4 separate regions of the Homo sapiens genome follow, and all the other regions are linked to region 1. Evidence: promoter capture Hi-C in 16 types of primary human blood cells and fetal thymus (Javierre and others, 2016). All regions are on one chromosome and are shown on one strand. The core of a region is centred on a gene start or on the middle of the fragment in contact, and the rest is flanking DNA. Distances in the headings are between cores, read along the strand shown.

What was found. The method cuts DNA at HindIII sites, captures the fragments that hold promoters and counts their contacts. A CHiCAGO score of 5 or more calls a contact.
Region 2: a fragment that was not itself captured here is called in contact with the fragment with the promoter of WRNIP1 in region 1 in 6 of 17 cell types (megakaryocytes, erythroblasts, total B cells and 3 more); the score reaches 13.2 in megakaryocytes.
Region 3: a fragment that was not itself captured here is called in contact with the fragment with the promoter of WRNIP1 in region 1 in 1 of 17 cell types (megakaryocytes); the score reaches 6.6 in megakaryocytes.
Region 4: a fragment that was not itself captured here is called in contact with the fragment with the promoter of WRNIP1 in region 1 in 2 of 17 cell types (neutrophils and megakaryocytes); the score reaches 7.4 in neutrophils.

What each region holds. Positions count from the first base shown.
Region 1 is chr6:2,763,951-2,767,071 of GRCh38, forward strand. It overlaps WRNIP1 (WRN helicase interacting protein 1), which reads left to right and starts at 1,443. Exons shown (of 7, transcript NM_020135.3): 1 at 1,443-2,494. The coding sequence starts at 1,673. It also overlaps a transcript of MYLK4 not described here. RefSeq lists enhancers at 8-887, 985-1,279 and silencers at 734-823, 1,204-1,253, 1,414-1,873, 2,044-2,363. The HindIII fragment of the contact is 13,290 bases long and covers 1-3,121 here.
Region 2 is chr6:2,989,104-2,992,224 of GRCh38, forward strand. It overlaps LINC01011 (long intergenic non-protein coding RNA 1011), which reads left to right. Exons shown (of 3, transcript NR_026856.1): 2 at 425-630; 3 at 766-2,068. NQO2-AS1 (NQO2 antisense RNA 1) reads right to left here. Exons shown (of 2, transcript NR_186367.1): 2 at 233-908. Among named protein-coding and RNA genes, the nearest start is that of LINC01011, 2.7 kb to the left of the region's middle. RefSeq lists enhancers at 1-425, 426-1,235, 799-958, 1,236-2,043 and a silencer at 1-228. The HindIII fragment of the contact is 233 bases long and covers 1,298-1,530 here.
Region 3 is chr6:2,948,551-2,951,671 of GRCh38, forward strand. SERPINB6 (serpin family B member 6) reads right to left here. Exons shown (of 7, transcript NM_004568.6): 6 at 364-519; 7 at 1-149. Among named protein-coding and RNA genes, the nearest start is that of SERPINB6, 21 kb to the right of the region's middle. The HindIII fragment of the contact is 228 bases long and covers 1,383-1,610 here.
Region 4 is chr6:2,930,857-2,933,977 of GRCh38, forward strand. No RefSeq gene overlaps it. Among named protein-coding and RNA genes, the nearest start is that of SERPINB9, 29 kb to the left of the region's middle. The HindIII fragment of the contact is 3,626 bases long and covers 1-3,121 here.

The sequences.
Region 1 (3,121 bases), core at 193-2,692:
GAAACCCCGTCTGTACTAAAAATCCAAAAAAATTACCTGGGTGTGGTGGCGGACGCCCGTAATTCCAGCTACTCGAGAGGCTGAGACAGCAGAATCACTGGAACCCGGGAGGCGGAGGTTGCCGTGAGCTGAGATTGCGCCATTGCACTCCAGCCTGGACAAGAGTGAAACTGCGTCTCAAAAAAATAATGAAAGCTCACGATCCTCTTTTGGTAGTTTCACGTTACATGATGATTAAAGTTTAACTTGTTTCTCTAGCGTTTCTATTAATCTTATTTTTGAGCCTAACTTTTTTAGTTAGAAACAACTCTTAACCAGCCAGCCAGGCGTGGTGGCTCAGCCTGTAACCCCAGGACGACTCCAAAGGCTAAGGCGGAAGGGTCCCGGGCGCCCAGGAGTTCAAGGCTGTGAGCTCTGGTCGCGGCCCTGCACTCCAGCCTGGGCGACAGAACGAGTGAGACCCTCAATGTGCTCTTGCCCAGATGAAATAAAAATTCAAGTTTTGGCCAAATTTCGGAAAAGTCTTCATTCTCCCTCAATTCATTTACCTCTTCTAGTTACCAAAAATGCCTGTTTTGAGATACATGTTTTAAAACGGGAGACTTAGACAAAAGCAAAAAATAACATGGTAATTCATTCAAAGATGCAGACTACCACACTTGTTTTAATCTGATATTCTTTCCATTTCTATCCGTCTAGGACGTAATTGCACACGGGCGCCTCCCATCATTTGGTTGCTAAGGAGACAGAAGGCTGGTGTTTCCGATTTGCCACTATTACACAGCGGCCCGCGAGAAGCATCTCTTGGCTCGAAGCGCGCTGTAGGTGAACCGCCCTTGACTTAAACGCCAACACATCTAAAAGGGGGCGAGGGACGCTTTATTTTCATTTCCCTGACCACTACTGAGGTGAGCATTTCTTTCACTCGCGTACTTGTTTGTATTTTTTCTGCTGTTCACGTCCAATAGAACACTGGTTTTCTATTGGAGGCTTTTGGGTTTTTTCCCCCATTTCCCTTTCGTTACAAACGACCCGCTGCGGCCGCCTCCTGCTTGTCCCCACAGGCCCATTCAACAGCCCAGCACGGAAGGCCGGGAAAGCGGCGCTCGCCGCTCCAACAACCTCGCGCAGTCCGTGGCTCCTCCCTGCCCTCGCGCGACTCGCAGGCCTGGGCGGAGGGCTGCGTCCGCCACCGCGCAACCTCGCGCACGCGCACCACGCTCGCCTCGCAACCCCCCCCCCCGCCCCTCCCCCGCCCCCGCAAAGGCTGTTCTCAGAGTCGGAAATGGACGCACGGCAGCTGGGGCGAATGGCCGCGGACTACACTTCCCGAAGTGCCGCGCGAGGTATTCTCGGCGGTGATTGGGGCAAACGGCCACGGACTACACTTACTTACATGCCGCGCGAGGCGCCTCCGCCGCCGGGGCAAACGGCCACGAACTACACTTCCCGACACGCCGCGTGAGGCGCTGCCAGCGGCCGGCCGAGGGCGGGCGGACGCGGGAGCTGCGGACGTGAGGCATGAGCGGCGCCCTCCTCCGGCCCGCGAGCGTCCTGCTGGTTCCCCGAGCGAGGGTCTCGCGGCGCGGGGCCTAGCGGAGGGCATCGAAGGCCTCCGCGTGCGCACGGGTTGCTGCGGCCGCGCCGGGCGCCGGGGAGGGCGGCGGCCGCCATGGAGGTGAGCGGGCCGGAAGACGACCCCTTCCTTTCGCAGCTGCACCAGGTGCAGTGCCCCGTGTGCCAGCAGATGATGCCCGCCGCGCACATCAACTCGCACCTGGACCGCTGTCTGCTGCTCCACCCGGCGGGGCACGCGGAGCCCGCGGCCGGGTCGCACCGCGCCGGGGAGCGGGCCAAGGGGCCCTCGCCGCCCGGCGCCAAGAGGCGGCGGCTGTCGGAGAGCTCGGCGCTGAAGCAGCCAGCCACCCCGACGGCAGCCGAGAGCAGCGAGGGCGAGGGTGAGGAGGGCGACGACGGCGGCGAGACCGAGAGCCGCGAGAGCTACGACGCGCCGCCCACACCCAGCGGCGCCCGCCTTATCCCCGACTTCCCGGTGGCCCGCTCCAGCAGCCCCGGGAGGAAGGGGTCGGGGAAGAGGCCGGCGGCCGCCGCCGCGGCGGGGAGCGCGTCTCCGCGCAGCTGGGACGAGGCGGAGGCGCAGGAGGAGGAGGAGGCCGTGGGCGACGGCGATGGCGACGGGGACGCGGACGCGGACGGCGAGGACGACCCGGGGCACTGGGACGCGGACGCTGCCGAAGCCGCCACCGCCTTCGGGGCCAGTGGCGGGGGCCGCCCGCACCCCCGGGCGCTGGCTGCCGAGGAGATCCGACAGATGCTACAGGGCAAGCCGCTGGCCGACACGATGCGTCCTGACACGCTGCAGGATTACTTCGGGCAGAGCAAGGCCGTGGGCCAGGATACCCTGCTGCGCTCGCTCCTGGAGACCAACGAAATCCCCTCGCTTATCCTGTGGGGGCCGCCGGGCTGCGGCAAGGTGAGTGCGGCCTTGGCCGTTGGGCTTCCGTAGTTATCTCGGCGGTGGATGCAGCTGATGGTCGGAGAGCCGGGTGTGCTGCCCTCGAAAGAAGCCGCCTGCCTCTCCTGGATAAGGGGGTGCAGACTTGGGCTGGGCTGGGGCAGTGCCTGGTCCACAGGTGGAGTCTGTGATGGGTGTGAAAAGGGCACACACCCCCAGATTGGTAAGGCAGGCTTGCCGGGTTTGCAAAAGGACGATGTCTGTGAATCCATAGTTTTACAAGATGTGGACTCTTAGATTTGATCTGCCTTTATCTTCCATCGGTCTCCCCGCCCCCTCCCCAGACTTTGATTTAGTAACCGAATTCGCAAGGAATCAGCATGTTTAAATTGTAAAGAAACATTTGTATATTCCGTTTGTACATAATAACGGATTCAGCTTTGAAAAAAATCAAATTAATTCTGTTGTGCTTCCTTCCTTTTCCACTAGTTGTTGGTTTAACAGACTGGTATTTATTCTTAAGAATAAGTTTATTTAACATTCTTATATTCTTGAGAATATATTGATTTTACTAAATATACTCATGTATTTACAAAACTAACATAAAAACTTTTTCATCTGCAAGTCATTTTCATCCGGTATTTC
Region 2 (3,121 bases), core at 164-2,663, 230 kb after region 1:
TGCAGCGGAGGGCGCCTGGGTGCCCTCGGCCGAGCCAGCAGCCCACGGTCGGCGCCGCACTGTCCCCTGGTGGCGGAGCGCTCCCGCGACCCGGCTCGCCACGCCTGGGAGGGGTCCAGGAGGACGCGGCTGGGACCTGGGGGCTCTCAGGGTGGGGCCTTGGGGGATGAGGCTGGGGCCCGCGGGAAACCGGGCTGGGGCGAGGAGGCTCGCAGGACTTCCTGCCACAGAATGTTTCGATGCTTTTTTTAATTCTGCAAATGTAAGCCTTTCCACTTTAAGTCCAAGCTCAGCGCAGAGGACTGTTCTATAATACATACAATTTAGTTTAAAAATGTTGCAAATGTTAACATGTGTCACAAACTCAAGCAATCCAGTATTATAGAAAGCAAAGAATGAAATGTGCTGCTTCTTTCTCCCCCAGACGCCCTTGCATACATTAAGATATGTATATATGGAAATGTTACCGGGAGTCCCGGTTATCCCAAAAAGGGTTGTTTCCTGTTGCGTGGTGAGGCCAATGCACGAAACCGAAAGGGAGTGTGTCAAGCAGTGCAGGCTGTATTCAATGGCTATGGAATTGGAAGATCTGAAATCAACTTAGCTTGTGAGAGCTGGGAAGTTTCAGAGGTAGGGTGTCTTTAATGAAGGGGCTGGGCATTAAGAGCACGGGGGGGAATATTCGTGCTTTCCTTGGGAAAGAACGGAGATTTTTCCCGGAATCAAGAAACCCCTTTTTTTCTGTCCCTTCTTGGTCTCTTCCAGTCGTTGTCATGGCGACATGTTGTTTAGCATGAGAACAGGATGATGATAAAGCCAGAGGCTCTTCAGAGGCGCCATCTTGGATTTCGCCAGCTTCAGCTGGTTTCGTCCTAAGAAGGAACTTCGAAACACAGGCATTCTTTTTCCTGAAAATAAGCAGAGTTACAGCTGAGTAGGAATTTAGCTCTGTCCCATATGCTATCGCATTGGGCAGCAAAAGCAGGGTGGGGTCCAGCGAAATCAGCAGGCACTGCAATGAGTAACATACCCAGCCACGTTTATGCAGCATTTTTACGAAAATGAAACCATACTACCTGTAAAGGAAGATATGCTAACAAACAACAAAACTGGCAGGAACCAAGATTCCTACTGACACTACCCTTAGTTTTAATTTTCCCTGACAACAAATGAGGTTAACAGAGCATAATTATCTACCGTGACCCCTTCAAAAAGACAGGCTGTATACATTTGCACTAAGAGAAGAAATCGTGTAATGTCAGCAAATTTCCCCCACTTAAAGCTTCTCTATTTAAAAAGCTTCACGCACACATGCACGCATATGTCTTCAAGATGACCACAATTTATTTTGCAGTCATTCTTTGCACCAGTTCCCAATTTTTCCCACTAGCTTGCAAGCTCCGTGACTCGAGGAGACCGGGGGATCAGAGTTTGTTTTTGCGGAGAAGTGAGTCCTTTATGCCCCAAATAGTGACTGACATAGAGAAGGTACTCAGTAAACACTTTTTAAAGGAATGCCTGCCTGACTGAAGCTTAATGATGTGAGGCTTCTAGTGGGATACCCTACCTTGTTTTAACCTGAAGTGACTCTTCCTTAGCTAAGAGAGCCAGACGGACTCCATCGTGACTCCTTCACTCGCAGCCCCTTACCCACCCCCTTCCTCAAGGACTTAACTTGTGCAAGCTGACTCCCAGCACATCAAGAATGCAATTAACTGATAAGATACTGTGGCAAGCTATATCCGCAGTTCCCAGGAATTCGCCCGGTTAATAGCACCCAGAGCCCCTGCGTTTGTGTCCGGTTGATAACGCCCAAAGCCCGGCGTCCATCACCTTAGGATAGACTTAAAGCCTCTGCACCTGGAACTGTTTACTTTCCTGTAACCGTTTATCCTTTTAACTTTTTGCCTACTTTACTTCTGTAAGATTGTTTCAACTAGACTCCCCCTCTCCCCTGTCTAAACCAAAGTATAAAAGAAAATCTAGCTCCTTCTTCGGGGCCAAGAGAATTTCGAGCGCTAGCTGTCTCTCGGCTGCCGGCTAATAAAGGACTCCTGAATTCGTCTCAGAGTGTGGCGTTTCTCTGTAACTCGCTCGGTTACAACACTAGGTTAATCTTTTTCCTTTAACTGTTTGTTTAAAATATATTATGTTTAAGACCTTCTAACTGGTCAGCCTCCAAGATAGTATTGTGCTGGGCTTGCTTTATTCTGGTTTGGTTTCCATGATCCCAGTTCATGTGTTACCTGCTTCTCTTTTGAATTCACAATGATACACAACTTTTAATTTGTTAGAACACAAACATAAGGAATTTTTTTTTCCATTTTAATGTGAGATATGACAGAGGCAAATTGTTTCTTAAAGACATAAAATAATTAAAATAATTACATAAATTGTAATAAAATAATTATTACAATGTTCTATCTTTGGCATTAAGGCATAGAACAATTTTTTAATCCTAAACTAGGCTGGGCATGGTGGCTCACTCCTGTAATCCCAGCACTTTGGGAGGCTGAGGCTGGTGGATCACTTGAGGCCAGGAGTTGGAGACCAGCCTGGCCAACATGATGAAACCCTGTCTCTACTAAAAATACAATAAAAAATTTAGCCGGGTGTGATGGCGCTCACCTGTAGTCCCAGCTACTCAGGAAGCTGAGGCACCAGAATCGCTTGAACCCGGGACGCGGAGGTTGCAGTGAGCTGAGATATAGCGCCGCTGCTCTCCAGCCTGGGCAACAGAATGAGACCCTGTCTCAAAGTAAATTAAATAAATAAAATCCTAAACTGTAGGACCAAGATTTGATTCAGAAAAGAGACTTTCTTGTACTAATTTATACACTGTTCATGTCAGATCCAATCTTTCTTTTTATTAGATGAATCTGGAAAAGCAACTTAGAATAATTCAATCAGTCTAAAAGAATAACAGCTGATGAGATGCAGTCAATAAGCAGTTTTGTATTAGTATTTTTATAAGAAATTAGAAAAACATGATTTTGGGGGAGATCTTCTCATAGTTAACAGCACATATAACATATAAGTTAGAAATGTACTCTGCTAGCTCATAAGATTTTAAAGCAGGGATTTTAGTGTCATTAAACTTTTATTTATAATAGTTTTTTTA
Region 3 (3,121 bases), core at 247-2,746, 180 kb after region 1:
TCAGTCATGCCCAGGTTGCGCAGGACACTCTCCATGTCGTAGCTTTCCTCTAGTTTAAACCGCGGGAGGGACACTTCCACCTCCTCTTCATCCATCATGTCCAGCCTCGTCCATTCTACGAACTTCTCGTAAGTGAGTTCTTTCTCCACCTAGAGGGAGACAGTTGAAGACTTTAAGACCCAGGGTGCTGCTGCCCAGCAGGGCCCTGTGCTATGCTGTGGATGCCAGACACCAGTGGCAGCGTGGCTATGGTCAGCAGCGCTCCAGTGTTAAACGGCTGACCGCAAAGTAGGGACAGCAGCCACAGCAGACACCCCCGAGTGGCTCCTTGCTAGCACGCCTCGCTCACAGCTTAGCTGTTACCGTTCTCAAGTCAGTGGTCTCGTCCGGAAGCATGATGATCATATTCAGTTCCTTGCCAACATATGGAAGCACCAAGATTTGGGTAAATATTTCTCCTATATAGGTCTTCTTAAAAGTAGATTGCTTAAACATCATTTGCACAGGTTTCTCCTCATTCTACAAAGAAAACAGATAAACATCAAGTTGAAACAAGACCCCACTGACACATGGGACAAATGTGTCGGAGCTGGCCACTCTCTGCAGGGAGAAACGCAGCTCGGTTTCTCCCCAGCTTCCAGAACACCCGGCAGCGCCTGCTCTGCCATCTTCATTACCTCAACCTCCAGAAACTGGGGTGCCCAGGGCCCAAACCCAACGTGTCTTTCCTCTCATTGATCGCATTCAGTCTCATGGCTTTAAACACAATATCACACCAAATTTACCTCCCGCCTGGGCCTCTGCCCTGTCCTTGGGCCTCCTGCATTTTACTGCCCACCTGCACCTATGTTTGGACATAAAAGAAACTCCCAGCGCCACCTGTAATGCGGCACTCCGTAGATCCTCCAAGTCGGCTCTGTCTACTGCAACTCTGCCCATCTCAGCTGAGGGCAGTGCCACTGTCCAGTGGTCAAAAGCCCTGGAGTGCCCCTGACTCCTGTCTTTCTCTCACACCCTGTGTCTGACTCACTGGCAAATTATATTGGCTCTACCTCGAGAATATAACAAAATCTGACCTGTTCCTTCTGCCTCTGCTGCTACCAGCCTAGCCCTGGAATATTGTGATAATATGATTGTGATTGTTCCCAGCACAGTGGCCAGAGGGGCCCGGTAGAACCTAAGGCAGATCACATTGTTCTTTGGCTGGACACCCTTCCCTGGCTCCCCATTTACTCGGAGCAGGAGCTGAAAGTCCCTAAAAAGCCTGGAATTGTGATAAGAGCTCGTCCCCAGTTCCCTCTCCCTTTGCTTATCTGCTACAGTCACAGAGGCCTCCTCACTGCACTGCCAGCAAACCCAGTTCATCTCATCTCTACGCAGTAAGCTTGTCCTCCAGAACCTGGAGAGTGAACTTCTGCCTCTTTACGGTCTTTGTTCAAAAACCACCTTGGCAGAGAAGCTGTCCTTGATAGATCTTACCTGACCCTACACTCCCACCCCAAACACAGATTCCTATCCCCTCCCTTGGTATGTCTCTGTACCATTTACCACTGTCTAATATGCTCCTATTTTCTTATTTATGCTTGCTGTCTCTCCCCCAAGAAAACATAAGCTTCACCAGGGCAAGCATGCTTTGCTTGTTTTGTGCATGGCTGAAAAATACCTAGCACCATGCCTGATACATAGAAGACACTCAGTCAGGTTAGGCATGGTGGCTCATGCCTGTAATCCCACCATTTTGGGAGGCTGAGGCAGACGGATCACCTGAGGTCAGGAAATCGAGACCAGCCTGGCCAACATGGTGAAACCCCACCTCTACTAAAAATAGAAAAATTAGCTGGGCATGGTGGTGCGCTCCTGTAATCCCAGCTACTCGGGAGGCTGAGGTAGGAGAATCACTTGAACCCGGGAGGCAGAGGTTGCAGTGACCCAAGATTGCACCGCTGCACTCCAGCCTGGGAGACAGACCGAGACTCCATCTCAAAAAAAAAAAAAAAAAGGCACTCAGTCAATCTCTGCTGAATAAATGATAAATGCATAAACGAATTAATGAGCTGGGATGCTAAAAAGGCCAGGCAACATTTACACATCTCACCAGAAAAAACTGCACTGGTCACCAACCCCAGCCAGCCAATGAGAAAGACTGGAGGCCAGGAACCACACCCCATCCAACAATCCCCCTCAGTTCCTGACTCGGAGCTGCTCCTGTGAGTTGAGTAAATACCCTGCAATAGGCACAGTCAAAGACGCCGTATGGTCCCCAGTCTCTGGTGTAGCACATTCTTCTGTGTTAAATGGAATAAATAAAATACACTGCGGCGGCAGCTTTCTGCTTTCACGTGGTAGAGGCTCGCCTGGGCTGGCCCTTAGCCTTTGGCTAGAGCAGTCTCCTGGGCCTCGGCTGCCCCACTCATTTCCTTGGCCAGCAGTAGGCATGTTTCTTCCATAACTGACCAGACAGGAACTATTTTCCGGTTTGTGGCTACATGTACCATCTCCGTCACAACGACTCAGCTGTTGTTACAGGATGAAATAAGTAAGTAAATAAGCATGGGCCAGGCGTGGTGGCTCACGCCTGTAATCCCAGCACTGTGGGAGGCCCGGGCAGGTGGATCACCTGAGGTCAGGAGTTCGAGACCAACCTGACCAACATGGTGAAACCCCGTCTCTACTAAAAATGCAAAAATTAGCCGGGCATAGTGGCACACACCTGTAATCCCAGCTACTCAAGAGGCCACGGCAGGAGAATCACCTGAACCCGGGAGGCGGAGGCTGCAGTGTTCCGAGATGGCACCACTGCACTCCAGCCTGGGCAACAAGAGAGAAACTCTGTCTTGGAAAAAATAAAAAATAAAAAAAAAAAATAAGCATGGCTGTGTTTCAGTAAACCTTTAAAAAAAATTAGGTGGTGGGCTGGCTTTGCTGTAGGCTGAAGTTTGCTGACCCCTGCCTTCAGTAATTCCTCCCTGCACCCCTTCAGGGTCCAAAGCCTCCAATCTTGCAATATAAAAAGATCTAACCTTAGTGACTGAATGATTCACTAAATACACAATTATATAGACAAGTTCCAGTTTATATAGAAGGTAATGAAATTAAAATAAGAATCTGTATCAACTCAAAA
Region 4 (3,121 bases), core at 172-2,671, 170 kb after region 1:
CTGGGATTACAGGCCTGAGCCACCATGCCCAGCCCTTGGAAGAGTTTTTTAAAGGTTATAAAATTACATTTCCAAGTGTTAAAAATAAGTATATGAGTTTTAACATCATTTTGTAGCAATAACATCATTTAACAAGGGAAAGAAAAACTTTCAAATAGATGTTTTAAAATGATCATTCCACCCTCTTTCAATAAGATGCATCTTTACCTACAAAGGCAATCCATTACAGTTTTTCAAAAATATTTGCTAGGTATTCCACTAATCGCCACTTTTCACAGAACAGGTCATTACATTTGGAATTCTTGCTATTCCAAAAGAAAAAAAAATGTAAATATCAAATTAACCAACCCTCTTTTCAAAGATCATTAGCAAATGAAAGCAGGCCACTGAAGAGAAATGTTGGAGAATGCTTGCTGACCCAGGAATGTGTGGAACCCGGTGGACCTCAATTCGAAAAGCGTCATATTAATTAGTTTGTCGGATTTTTCTGTTTGAAGGAGCTTGTGAGAGAAACATGTGTTTCGGACATGATCCCACCTGGAAGCTGCCATTAGCGTCTCCTTAGTGCCTTGTCGAATGAGAAACCCTATTAATTCCAGGGGTATTACCTGGAAGTATTAAATGACAAGGAGTTGGGTGGCAGTTAGGGAGGCCTGTTTGTCTTCTAAATGTATCCATTCCTTGTTGGGGTGCTCTGACTGCATGCAATGCAGACAGGAAAATTAAATAGGAAATATTAATCCTCATCTCCTCTTGGAATATGGCATGTCAGCAGGATGACCATACAGCATGGCTTGTCTGGGACAGTCCCAGTTATACCTGTTGCCTTGGTGTCCTGCCTGGGTCAGCATTTGTCACAGGCTTTTCATTTTCAATGAAGTGTTGTTAGTAACAGCTACAGGAGGGGGGTTGGCAGGTCTTTACTTTGTACTGTGAGCTCCCACTACACTTACACCTGTCAGGGTCCACTCAGGAGACAAAGCCACATCAGCTATGTGAACAGAGGAGAATATAAAGGATTGTTAGGAAAAGGGGCACAGACGCAGCATGTGAAAAAGGGGCAGCTGTTACCCACAGGCCCAGTGAGAATGGATGAGGAAAGACTAAAGTGTTAGGAGACCTTTACCGCACCCCCACCCCACACACACTTCGGGCTGAAACTCAGATCTTTTTGAAGAGGATGCAGCTGTCACAGAAACATGCAGCTGCTGCTGGCAGAGTGCATGGGTCAGAGTGGGCCACCAGGAGCTGTCTGCCATTGCCAGAGGGTGTGGCAGGCCAGAGCCGTCCGCAGAAGCAAAAGGCCAGGTAGGGACACAGCTGCCTGAGGTTGCAGCTGTTGCGACTGCAGAAATGGCTGTTGCATGGAGAAAACATGAGAATGAGGCTAGAGATGGTCTGTGTGGGCTGCTGGACCCTGCACTGAGTGGTTACAGGAGAACCAGAACTGGGAACGACAGGTGTCTTTCTACCGGGCTTTCCTGGCAGTGTCTCACTGGCACCCTCTAGTGACGAAGCGTAGCATTGTGCCATCTAGGGAAGTGACAGCAACTCCAGGGTTACATGAGAGGAGGCTCTAGAGCCAAGAGACAATCAATTGCTAAGTGACTCAGCAGGTGCAGGATGCTCACTTTAATCTTGGTTAAATCTGACAGGCAACTTGTGAGTCTGATCCTTTCCAGAAGTCTCCCCCTTCAAGGACAGGACATAAGGAACTCACTCACTGATAAAACAACTTAATCCTTGTTCACAAGCAGCTAGGGACAGCTACGTCCTTCTGGACTCTAGTACTGTGGAGATAATTATTTGGGACTGCTTTCCCCTGACAGCCACTGGGTTGTAATGTGGCTCGTGCTGTGGCTTTTGAGAAGCCATCATTTGGCAGTCAGTTGGAAACGTGGAAAAGTATAGTTTAGGTACACAGTTTAAACTATAATTTAGGCATATTTAAATAGAGGCTATATAAAAATAGAGGCATATTTAAATAGAGGAAATAGAGGCTATAAATTATTATAGATATAAGCCCAAACTCTCTTGCTACAGTGGTTTTGTTATTCATTATATAGGAAAATCTACAGCCATTTATTTTATTGTTTGACTATACTTTTTTACTTAATTTTATTATTTTGAGACAGAGTCTCACTGTGTCACTCAGGCTGGAATGCAGTCGCACCATCTCGGCTCACCACAACCTCCGCCTCTCAGGTTCAAGCGATTCTCCTGCCTCAGCTTCCTGAGCACTGGGATTACAGGCGCCCGCCAGCGTAACTGGCTAATTTTTTGTATTTTTAGTAGAGACACAGTTTCGCCATGTTGGCCAGGCTGGTCTCGAGCTCCTGACCTCAGGTGATCCACCTACCTCGGCCTCCCAAAGTGCTGGAATTACAGGCAAGAGCCACCGCACCCAGCCTGTTTGGCTATACTTTAATTTTGCAATAAATCCTTTTAGCAAACAGTGAGCTCAAAAATTAAGTACTGAATTTTCATATCACAAGAGGTGGAATGTTTAGTGTGCACAAAATGTTGCTGCTTACCACTCACCAGTGGCACCATAGTGCTATCTCTGACCATGTAAAAACTATAAGATGCTAATCTATAAGGAAATACTAGCACCTCCTTCAAAAGTTAGAACTTATTTTAAGAAAATTCTGGCCGGGCACGGTGGCTCACCCCTGTAATCCCAGCACCTTGGGAGGCCGAGGCAGGTGGATCACAAGGTCAGGGTTTGAGACCAGCGTGGCCAATATGGTGAAACTCTGTCTCTACTAAAAATACAAAAATTAGCCAGGTGTGGTGGCAGGTGCCTATAGTCTCAGCTACTCTGGAGGCTGAGGCAGGAGAATCGCCTGAACCTGGGAGGCGGAGGTTGCAGTGAGCCAAGATAAACGTCACTGAACTCCAGCCTGGGCGACAGAGTGAGACTCAGTCTCCAAAAAAAAAAAAAAAAAAAGAAAGAAAGAAAGAAAGAAAATTCTGTCCAAAGATAATAATCTATCAAGTGCATTGCAGAGGATATATTTATATATTAGTTTGTAAAGCAGGCTGTTCATTTGATCAAATGACTGCTATTTGAAGTTAATTTCTGTCATTTTCAAAAAGTAAAGCAATACATGGAAGCATT